2 separate regions of the Homo sapiens genome follow, and region 1 is linked to region 2. The links are contacts of gene promoters, found by promoter capture Hi-C in blood cells and fetal thymus (Javierre and others, 2016). All regions are on one chromosome and are shown on one strand. Each heading gives the region's core, a stretch centred on a gene start or on the middle of the fragment in contact. The rest is flanking DNA. Distances are from core to core; before and after follow the strand shown.

Region 1 (6,332 bases), core at 1-2,500, 100 kb before region 2:
TTGAATCCTCCAAGACCCCTCTTTTCTGTGTGATTTGCAGGAGCATTGATCTTGGTGACGCTACTGGGGTTAGCATGGTGGCCAGCTAAAGTATTACTAGAAATTCTGGGTCTTTGTGCATTGAATGGTGGTCTACTTTTATTACAGCTATTTCCTCAGGTAACAGCAAAGCAGCTGAAAGTTTTATTTTTAATCCGTCATCCAATTTTTGCAGATTTTTGTGGAGGTTAGAAAACTCTTCATTTCCAAAGCATTCCCAATTCACAGACTCCCCAAAAGTGCATCTGCCATTAGTGTATATGCTTACTCTTTTACACTTTAGCAGCCAGCAGACCCAGATGCAGGCAATTATTTCAGTCATTGGAGCTGATTTAATTTCTGGAGTGGTCTCTACTTTAAGGGTGAATTTAGGTCTGTGATAGCATTTTAAAATATGAACAAATAAAATCAGGTCAGGGCTATCCAAGGGAATTTCTAACAAGATGTTTTAAGAGCATGTGAAAAACACTGAGAGTTAACAGAATAATTTGGTGAAAAAAAATAACCTCTAGTAATCTGGGTGCAAAACAACTGAGTCATTTTACATGACAGAGCCAAATCCTAATTTTACTCCTTTGGTACATAATTTTCTAATAGATTATAATAAAGGCTCTATTAATATTCCTTTATTTGTATGCATTTAGGCATACACAGATATATAAATATACAAATAGGTAACAAATTAAAGCTTTCTTTTTTAAGTTGTAATAAAAACACTTAAAATGAGATCTGCTTGTTACCAGTGGAGGGCGTTCAGGTTCTTCGCATTTTGAACAAAGAACTGGACAGAACGCACAAACAAAACAAGGAGCAAACAAATTTTCATTTATTGAAAATGAAAGTACACTCCACAGGGTGGGAGCAGGCCAAGCATAGGGGCTCAAGAGCCCGGATTCAGAATCTTTTGGGGTCCAAATACCTCCTAGAAGTTTGCCATTGGCCACTTGGTGTTCACCCCATGCAAATGAATAGTGGTCCACAATCAGAGGCTGAAGTGAAGTTACAAAGTTACACTTCTATGCAAATATCTGATTGGCTGCAGAAAGCAACCAATCAGAGGAACTGTCCATTTTCCATCTGCAGAGCAGAAAAGCAGGGGGTTTGCAAAGGGAGTAGCTTCTGGTCCTTTTGTTACTTAGGCATGGAAAGTTGGGATTTTCCTTTCGATTTAGCTCTAGAAATTCAGTGTGAATCAGCCTTAGGTTCCCTGCCTCCAGACCCTATTCTCCTGCCGCATACTCTCTTAACAAATTTTTAAGTAAACAGGTACACAGTATTGTTAACTATGAGCACGGTGTTGTATAGCAGATATCTAGAATATGTTTATCTTGTATAACTGAAACTTTATACCTCTTGAATAGCAACTCTCCATTTTGTTACCGAAACACCAGGGATTCAGTCTGAGTCCTGCTGTTTGCTGCACAGATAGCCAACGGCTGAGATGATTACTGCCAAGGAAGAAGGCTTTAATAGAGTGCTGCAGTAGGGGAGATGAGAGATCAGTCTCAAATCCATCTCCCTGACTGGCTAAAATTAGGGGTTTATATAGCAGAGAAAAAAATGTAACAATGTATGGGAAAACAGGAATTCTGAAGGGCTAAGGAAGCAATCATGATGAATGAGGGGCCTGGCATCTCATTGTCTGGATGTGATGATCTGGTGAGTTTCCGTTCTTTGATACCTTCTGAGAGGCCTGGTATTTAATTGTCTGGATCTGGTGAGTTTCAAGCTTTAAGTTTATTTTTTAAAAACTGTCTATGTCCAGGCGCGGTGGCTCACGCCTGTAATCCCAGCACTTTGGGAGGCCGAGGCGGGCGGATCACGAGATCAGGAGATCGAGACCATCCTGGCTAACACGGTGAAACCCCGTCTCTACTAAAAGCACGAAAAATTAGCCGGGCGTGGTGGCGGGCGCCTGTAGTCCCAGCTACTTGGGAGGCTGGGGCAGGAGAATGGCGTGAACCCGGGAGGCGGAGCTTGCAGTGAGCCGAGATCGCGCCACTGCACTCCAGCGTGAGCGACAGAGCGAGACTCCGTCTCAAAACAAAACAAAACAAAACAAAACAAAAACTGTCTCTGGACAGTTGGATTGGTTTTAATTTCCTCCTCTCCCGATCCCCTGAAAACCGTCATTCTACTTTGTTTCTATGAGTTGGCCTATTTTGGATACCCCATGTCAGTGGAATCATGCAGTATTTGTTCTTCTGTGACGAGCTAATTTCACTTAGCATAATGTCCTCCAGGTTCATCCATAGTGTTATATATTGCAGAATTTCCTTCTTTTTAAGACTGATTAATATTTCACTGAATGTACATACCAAATTTTCTTTATTCATTCATCTGTTGATGAATAGTTAGGTCATTTTCATGTCTTGGATATTGTGAATAATGCTACAATGAACAAAGGACTGCTAATATCTCTTTGGGATCCTTCAGTTCTTTTGAATATATACCCAGAAGTGGGATTGCTGGATCATTTGGTAGTTCTATTTTTCATTCTTTTATGAACCTCTATATTGTTTTCCACAGTGGCTGCACAATTTTACTTTCCCACCAACCGTGTACAAAAGTTCCAATTTCTCCTCAACAGCACTTGTTACCAGTTGGGAGCTTGTCTCACTTTCTTTACCTTTTTTTTTTTTTTTTTTTTTTTTTTTTTTGACAATAGCCACTCTAACAGGTGTGAAGTGATATTTCATTGTGGTTTTGATTTGCATTTCTCTTATGATTAGTGATGTTGAGCATCTTTTCATATACCTGTTGGCCATTTGTATGCTTTCTTTTGAGAAATGTCTATTCAAGTCCTTTGCAAGGATGGCTCATCATATGTAAAACAATTAATGTGACACACCACGTTAACAAAATGAAGGATAAACATCAAATGATCATCTCAATAGATGCAGAAAAAGCATTTGACAAAATTCAACATCTTTTCATAGTAAAAACTCTCAACAAACTAGGTATAAAAGGAATTTTCCTTGACAAAATAAAGACCATATATGACAAGCTCACAGCTAACATTATACTCAACAATGAAAAACTGAAAGCTTTGTCTGTAAGATCAGGAACAAGGCAAAGAATACCCGCTCTTGCCACTTCTAGTCAACATAGTACTGGAAGTCCTAACGGAGCAATTAGGCAAGGAAAAGAAATTTAAAAGTCATACAAATTGGAAACGATTAAGTAACACTATCTCTGTTTGCAGATGACATAATCTTATATGTAGAAAACCCTAAAGACTCCACACACAAAAAAAAACTTAGAATGAATAAACAAATTCCATAAAGTTGCAGGATACAAGATCAACATACAAAAGTTAGTTATGTTTTGGTACACTAACAACAAAGTATCCAAAAGAAAATTACAAAAAACAATCCCATTTGCAATAGCACCAAGAAGAATAAAATACTTAGGAATAAACTCAACCAAGGAGATGAAAGACTTGTATGTAACACTGATGAAAGAAATCAAAGAAAACTACATAATATTGATGAAAGAAATCAAAGAAGACACAAGTAAATGGAAAAACATCCCATGTTTATAGATTGAAAGATCTAATAATGTTTAAATGTTCACGCTACTTTGATCTACAGATTCAATGTAATCCCTATCAAAATCTAATGGCATTTTTTTTTTTTTTTTGAGACAAAGTCTCACTCTCTTGCCCAGGCTGGAGTGCAGTGGTGCGATCTCAGCTCACTGCAACCTCTGCCTCCTGGGTTCAAGCAGTTCTCCTGCCTCAGCCTCCCGAGTAGCTGGGATTACAGGCACCCGCCACCATGCCTGCCTAATTTTTATATTTTTAGTAGAGACGGGGTTTTACCATGTTGGCCAGGCTGGTCTCGAACTCCTGACCTCAGGTGATCCACCCATCTTGGCTTCCCAAAGTGCTGGGATGACAGGCATGAGCCACCACACCCAGCCTCTAATGGCATTTTTTTACAGAAATAGGAAAAAATAATCCTAAAATTCATATGGAACCACAAAAGATCCCAAATAACCAACACAATCTTGAGAAAGAAGAACAAAGCTGGAGGCATCAACTTCCTGATTCCAAAATATATTACAAAGCTATAGTAATTAAAACAGTATGGTACTGTCATATAAACAGACACAAGGACCAATGGAACAGAACAGACAGCCCAGAAATAACCTAAGTGTATATAATCAACTGATCTTCAACAGGGTGCCAAGAATACACAATGGACAAACGATGGCCTCTTTAACAAATGGTTTTGGGAAAACTGAATATGGACATACAAAAGAATAAAATTGGACCCCTGTCTTACACCACACTCAAAAATGAGCTCACAATGGATTAAAGATTTAAATATAACACCTAAACCTATAAGACTCCTAGAAGAAAACATAGGAGAAAGTCTTCATGACATTGGTCTAAGCGATGATTTCTTTTATATATCAAAAGCACAGGCAACAAAAGCAAAAATAGACGAATGGAACCACATCAAACTAAAAACCTTCTGCACAGCAAAAGAAACAACAGTGAAAAGGCAGTCTATGGAATTGGAGAAAATATTTGCAAACCACATATCTGAGAAGAGGTTAGCTAACATCCAAAATACATATAGAACTCCCACAACTCAATAGCAAAAATTACTTTAAAGCTTTTAACTATAGCCTTAAAATATAATTGAATAAAATATGTGTATATTAAATGTATTTTGAATAAACTGTAGTAACTTTTCTAAATAAACAGAAAATCATACCTTATTCTGTACACATACCTGTATCTCTCTGCATTAGTGTATCCAGTACAATTAACCATCTACTCTCATTATTATATTTAATTAGAGTAACCAATCTTCTTGTTTTCTCAAAAAAAAAAAAAAAAAAAAAGCCCCGAGAAAAGAAAGTTTAAAACTGTCCAGCTAAGACTGGCCACGGTGCCACCATGCCCAGCCCAGTACTGATATTTTCTGAGATTTGATCTCACACTTGGCTGCGGGGCTTTTACCTAATTCCTTTGAGAACAATCCTGCCTCTGCTACCTTTGGCCAGCTATTGGAAGGGGCATCCAGCTCTCTGCCAGCCACCTCACCCTACTCAGACAGGGGGCCCAACTCCACCTCAAACCAGGAGAAGTGGAAAAGAGTCTTTTTTCCTGCTGTTCGTCTGAAGGTGCAGGTCATCCCTAAGTGCACGTGGCAGTCCAGGTCTCCCCTGTGCCCTGGAACATCCTTCTCCCTGGCCTCTGCTCCTGGGTGTCTTGAGAAACATAACTTCTTGATCACCAATTTAAGTATGACAGTGGGGTTTAGAAAAAAGCTATGTTCCCTTTAAAGAAGGGGCTTATTTGCTTTTGCTAATAATCCCAGCCAATACTTACTGAGTGTCTATGACTTGTCTACTATATATACCTCCTCACCAAATTCTCAAAACATCTCTTTGAATTATTTCTTTCTTCCCTCATTTTATGGATGAGAAAACTGAGGCTCAGGAAAATTAAGTAACTTGCCCAAGGACACACAGCTAGCAAGTCACCAAGTTGTATCTGACCAGTCCAGTCAACCCCAAGACCTGGGTCTACCCAGGACACCACACTGCCTACAAAACGCTGCAGGGTGAAACCACAGGATCCAAAGAGCCAACAACAATCCAAGACTTTCCAGACACCGTGGGGGCTGATAGTAGACAAACTTGGCCCTAGGCCAAGAGGCCCTCACGTGCCAAGCACTGTAGGCATTTCTTAGAATTCTTTGTGTCTTTTGTTTTCATTATCAGCAAGAAATGCTACTTCACAAGGCTGGAATATTTCGTGTAATGTGATCCTATAAACACACGCTAAGCGGGGAGTAAACAAGGCAGCAGACATGCCGGAGAGAGACCTGAGCCCGAATGCGTGGGAAAGCTTCAGAGCAGTGCACCGGGGAACACAAACATCATTGGCTGCAAAAAAGGTCCCTGTAATGACCTTTGTCATTTGGGGTTTACTGTTGCTGTTTCCCTAAATACAAAGAAAGTGCACAAAGAGGCCAGGCGCAGTGGCTCACGCCTGTAATTCCAGCACTTTGGGAGGCCGAGGCGGGTGGATCACGAGGTCAGGAGATCGAGACCATCCTGGCTAACACGGTGAAACCCCGTCTCTAAAAATACAAAAAATTAGCTGGGCGTGGTGGCGGGCGCCTGTAGTCCCAGCTACTCGGGAGGCTGAGGCAGGAGAATGGCGTGAACCCGGGAGGCGGAGCTTGCAGTGATCCGAGGTGGCGCCACTGCACTCCAGCCTGGGCGACAGAGCGAGACTCCGTCTCAAAAAAAAAAAAAAAGACAAAGAA
Region 2 (6,453 bases), core at 3,577-6,076:
AGAGTTTAAGTAAATTAGATGATTCCAGTTCTCTGCATGCAACTGGCTTTTTGCCATACTACCACCAGCAAATCCCAAAGAACAAAGTTTTTTTTTATGTTTTCTCAGAACCTGCTAAAGGAAACTATCAAGAAACAGAAATACAGAGAGCAGATAATTCAATAATTTACAAAACTAAGTATCTTCATTAGTACAGTGATGAGTAAAAAAAAAGGACTAACATTTAATTCCTTTCACCACAAAAGGATATTAAAATTCTTTGAAGATCTTTGAAAATAGTATATTAATATGAAAAATAATAAAACAGCTGTCTGAAAAACCTCTGAAAAAAGTAGCTAAAATGGTAATTCTCACGATCATCATCATCAATAGAAGTGACCACTTACTATTTTTTATTTGCTAGGCACTAATGTGAAGCATTTTACATGCATTATCTCATTTCATATTATGAAACATCATCTCTGCTTTACATATGTAAAAATTATTATTCTTATGGTTAAGTTACTTGCTCTGGGTCTCAGAGCTAATAAGTGGAGGTAGAACTTAAATTCAGTTTTGTGTGAATCCAAAAGCAGTGCTCTTATCCATTATACCAGTGCTTCCCAACCTTTGTCACATGATGGCACACATTAAAAATATTTGTAAGGCTCATTGGGGTGAGCTGAAAGAGCTTGGTGAAAAAAAATTTTCTTGCTTGCCCTGGGGTCAAAAAAAAACAAAAACAAAACCCGCACACACAAAATTTCTTATTATGAAATTATGGCATGAAAAAAATACAAAGTATTACAAATGATATTAAATATTAAATTGGTATAAATTTAGTATTTATACCAAATAAAATTTTTTCAAATTACCAAATTCATGGTAGGGTAGGCACAGTGGCTCACACTGGTAATCCCAGCACTTTGGGAGGCTGAGATGGGAGAATCACATGAGGCCAAGCATTTGAGACCAGCCTGGGCAACATAATGAGACCCCCATCTCTAATTGTTTAAATAGTAAATAACCAAATTACCAAATTCATGAATTATACAAGAGGAAATCATACCAAAGATGTTCAAATGTAATTTCAACTGTTGTAAAAGTTTGAACTTATAAAAATGATTTAAAATTTCAATGCTATAAAAAATTTGTAAACAGCACACCTATATGCCATCCTAAGCACTGGAACATTGGTTGGGAAGCTTTGCATGGTATTTTTTCAATAGAATGTCATAATTAAACACTAATTTGATATACCAAGATCTTCCCAAGAACACTTTATTTTTTTTTTTTTTGAGACAAAGAGTCTCACTTTGTCACCCAGGCTAGAGTGCAGTGGCGTCATCTCTGCTCACTGCAACCTCCACCTCCCGGGTTCAAGCGATTCTCCTGCCTCAGCCTCCCAAGTAGCTGGGACTACAGGTGCACACCACCACGCCCGGCTAATTTTTGTACTTTTAGTAGAGATGGGGTTTCGCCATGTTGGCCAGGCTGGTCTCGAACTCCTGACCTCAGGTGATCCACCAGCCTCGGCCTCCCAAAGTGATGGGATTACAGCCAGGAGCCACCACGCCCAGCCCTTTCCAAGAACATCTAAATGAAATTCAAACCAAAGGTTATCAAAGGAAGAATTACAATACTGAAGTGTCTGTAAATAATCTGGCCCACACTAGCTGCTTAATTTGGTATAATTTCCATAATACCTACAATCTGTAACATTCATTTTGACTTAATAAGAATAGCTAATCTTCATGGAGCTAGTACTATGTGCCAAGCTGTGTTCTGCTTTACATTATTACCATATTTAATCCTCACAGCAATCCTAGGAGTAGCTCTATTTTCTCCATTTTAAAGATAAGAAAACTGAGGCCAAGAGAAATTAACTTTCCCAAGGCTATAACTAGTAAATGGGAATTAGGATTTAAAGCAGTCTGACTTCAGGACCCATGCTATTAATCACCATGTTAAACTACACCCCCATAAGAAAGAAAATATATCATGTGTCAGGAGACACAGGGTAAGTAGATAGATCTCAACTTAAACTAAGTTCCATAGTGATAAAGTAAAAATGACTTGCATCTACAGCAAAGGAGACATTATCCAGGAAAAAGAAAACTGTATACTGTTTTGGGTACATTTTGCTTATAGAAATAGCATAGAAGATAATTTTAATTTCCTATGTGTGTTATGATATGGCTCAAGCAAGAACATATGTTTCTGCAACCTATTTGAATTTGTGGATTTAACTTGCTCAAGAATATTTTAAAAATCTTACTTAAAAAAGAATGAAGTTGGTAAAAATTAAAAGCAAATATGTTTAGTACTTTGATTTTTACTTACTGCTTTTCAAGTTCCCTAAGTCAAGTGTCTAATTTTGTTTTTAATTAAATGCACTACAGATAAAATCCTGAACAAAAATTCTTCTAGACATCTGGACAAGTTCCGCCTATCCAAATTCTGCCTGCCTAATCCTGCATTTTGGAAGAAAGTCTCAAAGTTTCCAACTACATTACAATAAACTGATGTCCTAAGGGTATCTCTGTTGGTCAGTGTAAATCAAATCACTCACAGAAGATGAGAATACATCTTTACTTTCATAACCAATCGATCAATAAAGAAAATGCTGGCCAGGCACGGTGGCCTCACGCCTATAATCCCAGCACTTTGGGAGGCCAAGGCGGGTGGATCACAAGGTCAGGAGATTGAGACCATCCTGGCTAACACGGTGAAACCCCGTCTCTACTAAAAATACAAAAAATTAGCCAGGCGTGGTGGCGGGCGCCTGTAGTCCCAGCTACTTGGGAGGCTGAGGCAGGAGAATGGCGTGAACCCGAGAGGTGGAGGTTGCAGTGAGACGAGATCGCGCCACTGCACTCCAGCCTAGGCAACAGAGGGAGACTCCGTCTCAAAAAAAAAAAAAAGTTAACGCCCTGAATGTTATAGTTTATATCAAATTTCTCAAAGGCCCCAAGGACCAGTGTTCAACATTTGCTGGCTCAGGCTGGTTAACAGTAAATATTTAAGGAGCACCTACTAGGTACCAGGGACCATGCATATCCACCTGTTATACAGACAGTCGCAGTCTAGAACTACAATTTGAACTCGCATCTTCTGAAAGTTCAGGTATACAAACCGGAACCTTAAGCTCCAATACATAACTTTCCCTTTATAGTATATTCAAAAAAGCTATTACCAGAGCTTCTGCAATCTACAACCAACCAAATATGTTCACACGAAGAGACTAACAGGGGCACTTAGAATGTACAAAATAAGTCTTGGGTTACAGTGTACATTCTGTTCTCTGGAGCTTTATACCATGAAAATTTAGCATTTCCCCTAAAGTGACTCCTTTTCCTCAAAAATCAATTGTTTTAAAAAGTAAATTTCTATTGCTTGTAAGGGTTTCTGTAGAAACCCCTACTCCTACTTATTCTTCTCTAATGGAAATACTACCCTAGAAAATATTGGAAAATAATGGAAATACTACCCTAGAAAATCTTCACTAATAATGAAGAAATGTGGCTTGATTTATTAGTAAGCTAATGCCAGTATTCTTTGTATGATTTACTGAGCCTCTCAAAAATTTTGAAACTCATGTTGAGTAAAATACATCCGACTGTGTTTAAAAAAAGCCAATTAAAACGACTATCAAATAACATAAACAGTAATTCCTGAAGTCAATGGTTTTGCTTTGAAGAGGCCAAAAAGGATAAAACAGCCACCAGAAGTCTACCATAGTCTTTACAGTGAATATGTCCAACTCTGTAACTTATCCTAAGGTAACTATTCCAACTACACATCATCTATAGCAACTATTCAGCATCCTCCAATGTGTAATCTCTTGTTCACTAGATCTTCTGCTACAAACCTCAAAGAAATCATTCTTTAAATTTCTTCAGCTCACACCATTTCCCATCCTTTTGTAAAAACAGAAGAAGACGTTATAAAACTTTGAAAATAAAAATGATAGGAAACGGTGGAAAAGTAGAGATGGCCTCTGCACCCAAGCTCTTTTCCTTTATACCTGATAACTTGTCATTTATCTCACCTACCTATCTTCATGTTCCTGGATAATCCAGGGTTCTTCCAACAGTTCAAATGGCTCTCTTACTAACAAATGTCAACGTCCTTATGTGACCATTCTGTTCCAGTCTCTGTACCATCCATTCAAGCCTGCTAGCTTTATCCTGCCAAAGAACCACGACGCTCCAAACTCACAAACCATTATACAAGCCCAACATATACTCTATGCCGTTCTCGTTACCAACACGCTCCAACCCAACGTAAAACCTTCCTAGTATCAACTCTTCCTTTATGAGCTTTTCCCATATTCCTACTCCCTCAACATCTACCGGCCCATACTCCCAAGTCTCTCTGCTAAACGCAATTCTAGCCCGGAGTCACACCCTCTACAGCCTAATTCCCGCAACCCCAAAACCCCACCCCCCTCATCACGCCCTCTGGGGCCTCAGCTAGGAACCCCAACACCCCGCCCCACGCCCGGCACGCCCTCCAGATCCCTTTAGGGTCCTTTCCGTCGGCCCGACCAGACCCCGTTCAGGCCTTCCAAGCGCCTAGGCTCTCCCGACCACCACTCAGTCCCCGCCTCCAGCCCCTCACCGAGTAGCAGCAGCTTCACTTCTTTGGCCGCTTTTTCCCCGTCCTCCCGTAAGTTGCGGTCGATCATCTTGCTTCGCTCCACTGCCGCCTTGTCTTCGGCGCTCAACGTGCAGCCCATGGCGGCGGCGGGAGAGGGGACACGGGCCCGGACTCACTCACACCACGGAAACTGCGGCTCGGCAGGCTGAGGCACCGTCTATTGCTGGGCGGTGGCCCTCTCCGTCAGCTCCCTTAGCGCCCAGAAGAACCGGATATCCGACGTTTACGACACTTCCGGCGACGCCCCGCAGCCTTCACCGTTTAAACCACTCTCCTCAGGGAGAGGAGTTGAGACCGAAAGCGGAAGTCACGGGGAGCTGGCGGCTGGGTTGGGCGGCGGATCTGCAGAGTTTCGAGGTTCTGTCAAGTTCGCTGCCCGCCGCCCAACTTGAAGCCTCATTTACCTTTCGGCTACCTGATTTGGATAAATGGAGAAAAACCGGGGCCTCTAACTCATAATGCCCTCCCGCGTTCAAGATGCCAGTTTTGGGGCGGAGATTTCTAAATTAAAGCCTACATCCCGCGCGGGAATATCTGCTGGTAATTTCTCGCCTGCCAGAAAACTCCTTTGATCTCTGGCTGTGGAGACTCGGGACCCCTACCCAAGTATGGGACACTGCCTCCGTTGGGGTTATCTCAGATCAATGGAATGGGAACAAGCTATCCGGCCTGGGCGCCGTTCACGTCTCACATCTGAGATCGTAACACCGACTGTGCTTAGGACCTCAGCAATAACTTTTTGCCGTCTCTGGCCCACTGACTCCTCTCAAAATGTCCCCTGGTCCTTTTGCTATTCACGTATTTCTGTGGGCTTGAGATTTGCTTAACTCCTATATTGGCAAAAGGCCACTTGAAATCGCTAGCAGATACTCGATAACCTGAAAGGTAAGCCTGTAGTTCCTCCATAAAATTTCCATGCTGCCCTTCTCTCCAGTATAATTCAGATCTTCCTACCTTAGGGTCTTAGAACTAAAACCAAGATAAGTCAACTTCAATTCCACACCCCGAAACAAACCAGTGCATCCTGTGAATCTCCTACTAAAATTTCCTGTTGCGATAACATGCAAAAGGAGAGGTTCTAGTAAAATTTGCCTCTCAGCCCTAGTATCACCTGAAACTTAAGTCCACTGTGAAAGTCCCAGGCAGATAGCATCTTTCACTAATAACCCTGGATACTGCGTGAAGGTAGTCCTAAATCAACTTTTCAGGCAAATAAGCCCACAATTACTATACGTTCTAGCGAAGGGAACTCAGTCCCTAAAACCTTTCCCTGTGATTGTAAATTTATTTCTCTAATAGAATCTGAACTTGAGAAAGTAAGGTCCCAACAGAGAGGTTTATATAGTGATGATTCATTAATTAGAAGGATTTAATTAGAGGATTAGAGCCACCTTAAAAAGCCTCGTCCACCTTAACTCTTAGCAATGCCAATTCTTCAAGGTTTGAAAAGTCCCCCAGTCATTCCCAAATGACTGTTAAGAATGAAAGGGACTGCTTTTCCATTATCAATACTTTTGGGGAAAAAGGGCAAGAGGAAAGGGAAGTAAAACCAGTATTTATTGAGTACCTATTTGCCAGATACGGCTAGGTGCTCCCACATCCCATCTCTTAATCCTCACAACAACCCTGTGAGGTAGGTAATAATGATCCCCATTTTTACAGGTGAGGAAGTAGGCTCAGAGAAATTAAGCAGCTTTCCCAACTTCACACAGTGAGTAAGTACATCTATCTGACCCCAGAGTTACCCTTTTCTATCATGCCCCCGTAGGATATTGCCTGGGGACACCTGACAACAGAAAGTCTAAGGTTTTC

What was found. The method cuts DNA at HindIII sites, captures the fragments that hold promoters and counts their contacts. A CHiCAGO score of 5 or more calls a contact.
Region 1: a fragment that was not itself captured here is called in contact with the fragment with the promoter of GNAI3 in region 2 in 17 of 17 cell types (M2 macrophages, M1 macrophages, megakaryocytes and 14 more); the score reaches 42.7 in M2 macrophages.

The regions. Positions count from the first base shown.
Region 1 is chr1:109,644,296-109,650,627 of GRCh38, reverse strand. No RefSeq gene overlaps it. Among named protein-coding and RNA genes, the nearest start is that of GSTM4, 8.6 kb to the left of the region's middle. RefSeq lists an enhancer at 5,699-6,332. The HindIII fragment of the contact is 1,041 bases long and covers 730-1,770 here.
Region 2 is chr1:109,546,988-109,553,440 of GRCh38, reverse strand. GNAI3 (G protein subunit alpha i3) reads right to left here and starts at 4,826. Exons shown (of 9, transcript NM_006496.4): 1 at 4,603-4,826. The coding sequence starts at 4,720. It overlaps GPR61 (G protein-coupled receptor 61), which reads right to left. Exons shown (of 2, transcript NM_001393907.1): 2 at 6,181-6,453. RefSeq lists enhancers at 4,540-4,709, 5,240-5,299. The HindIII fragment of the contact is 6,158 bases long and covers 1,187-6,453 here.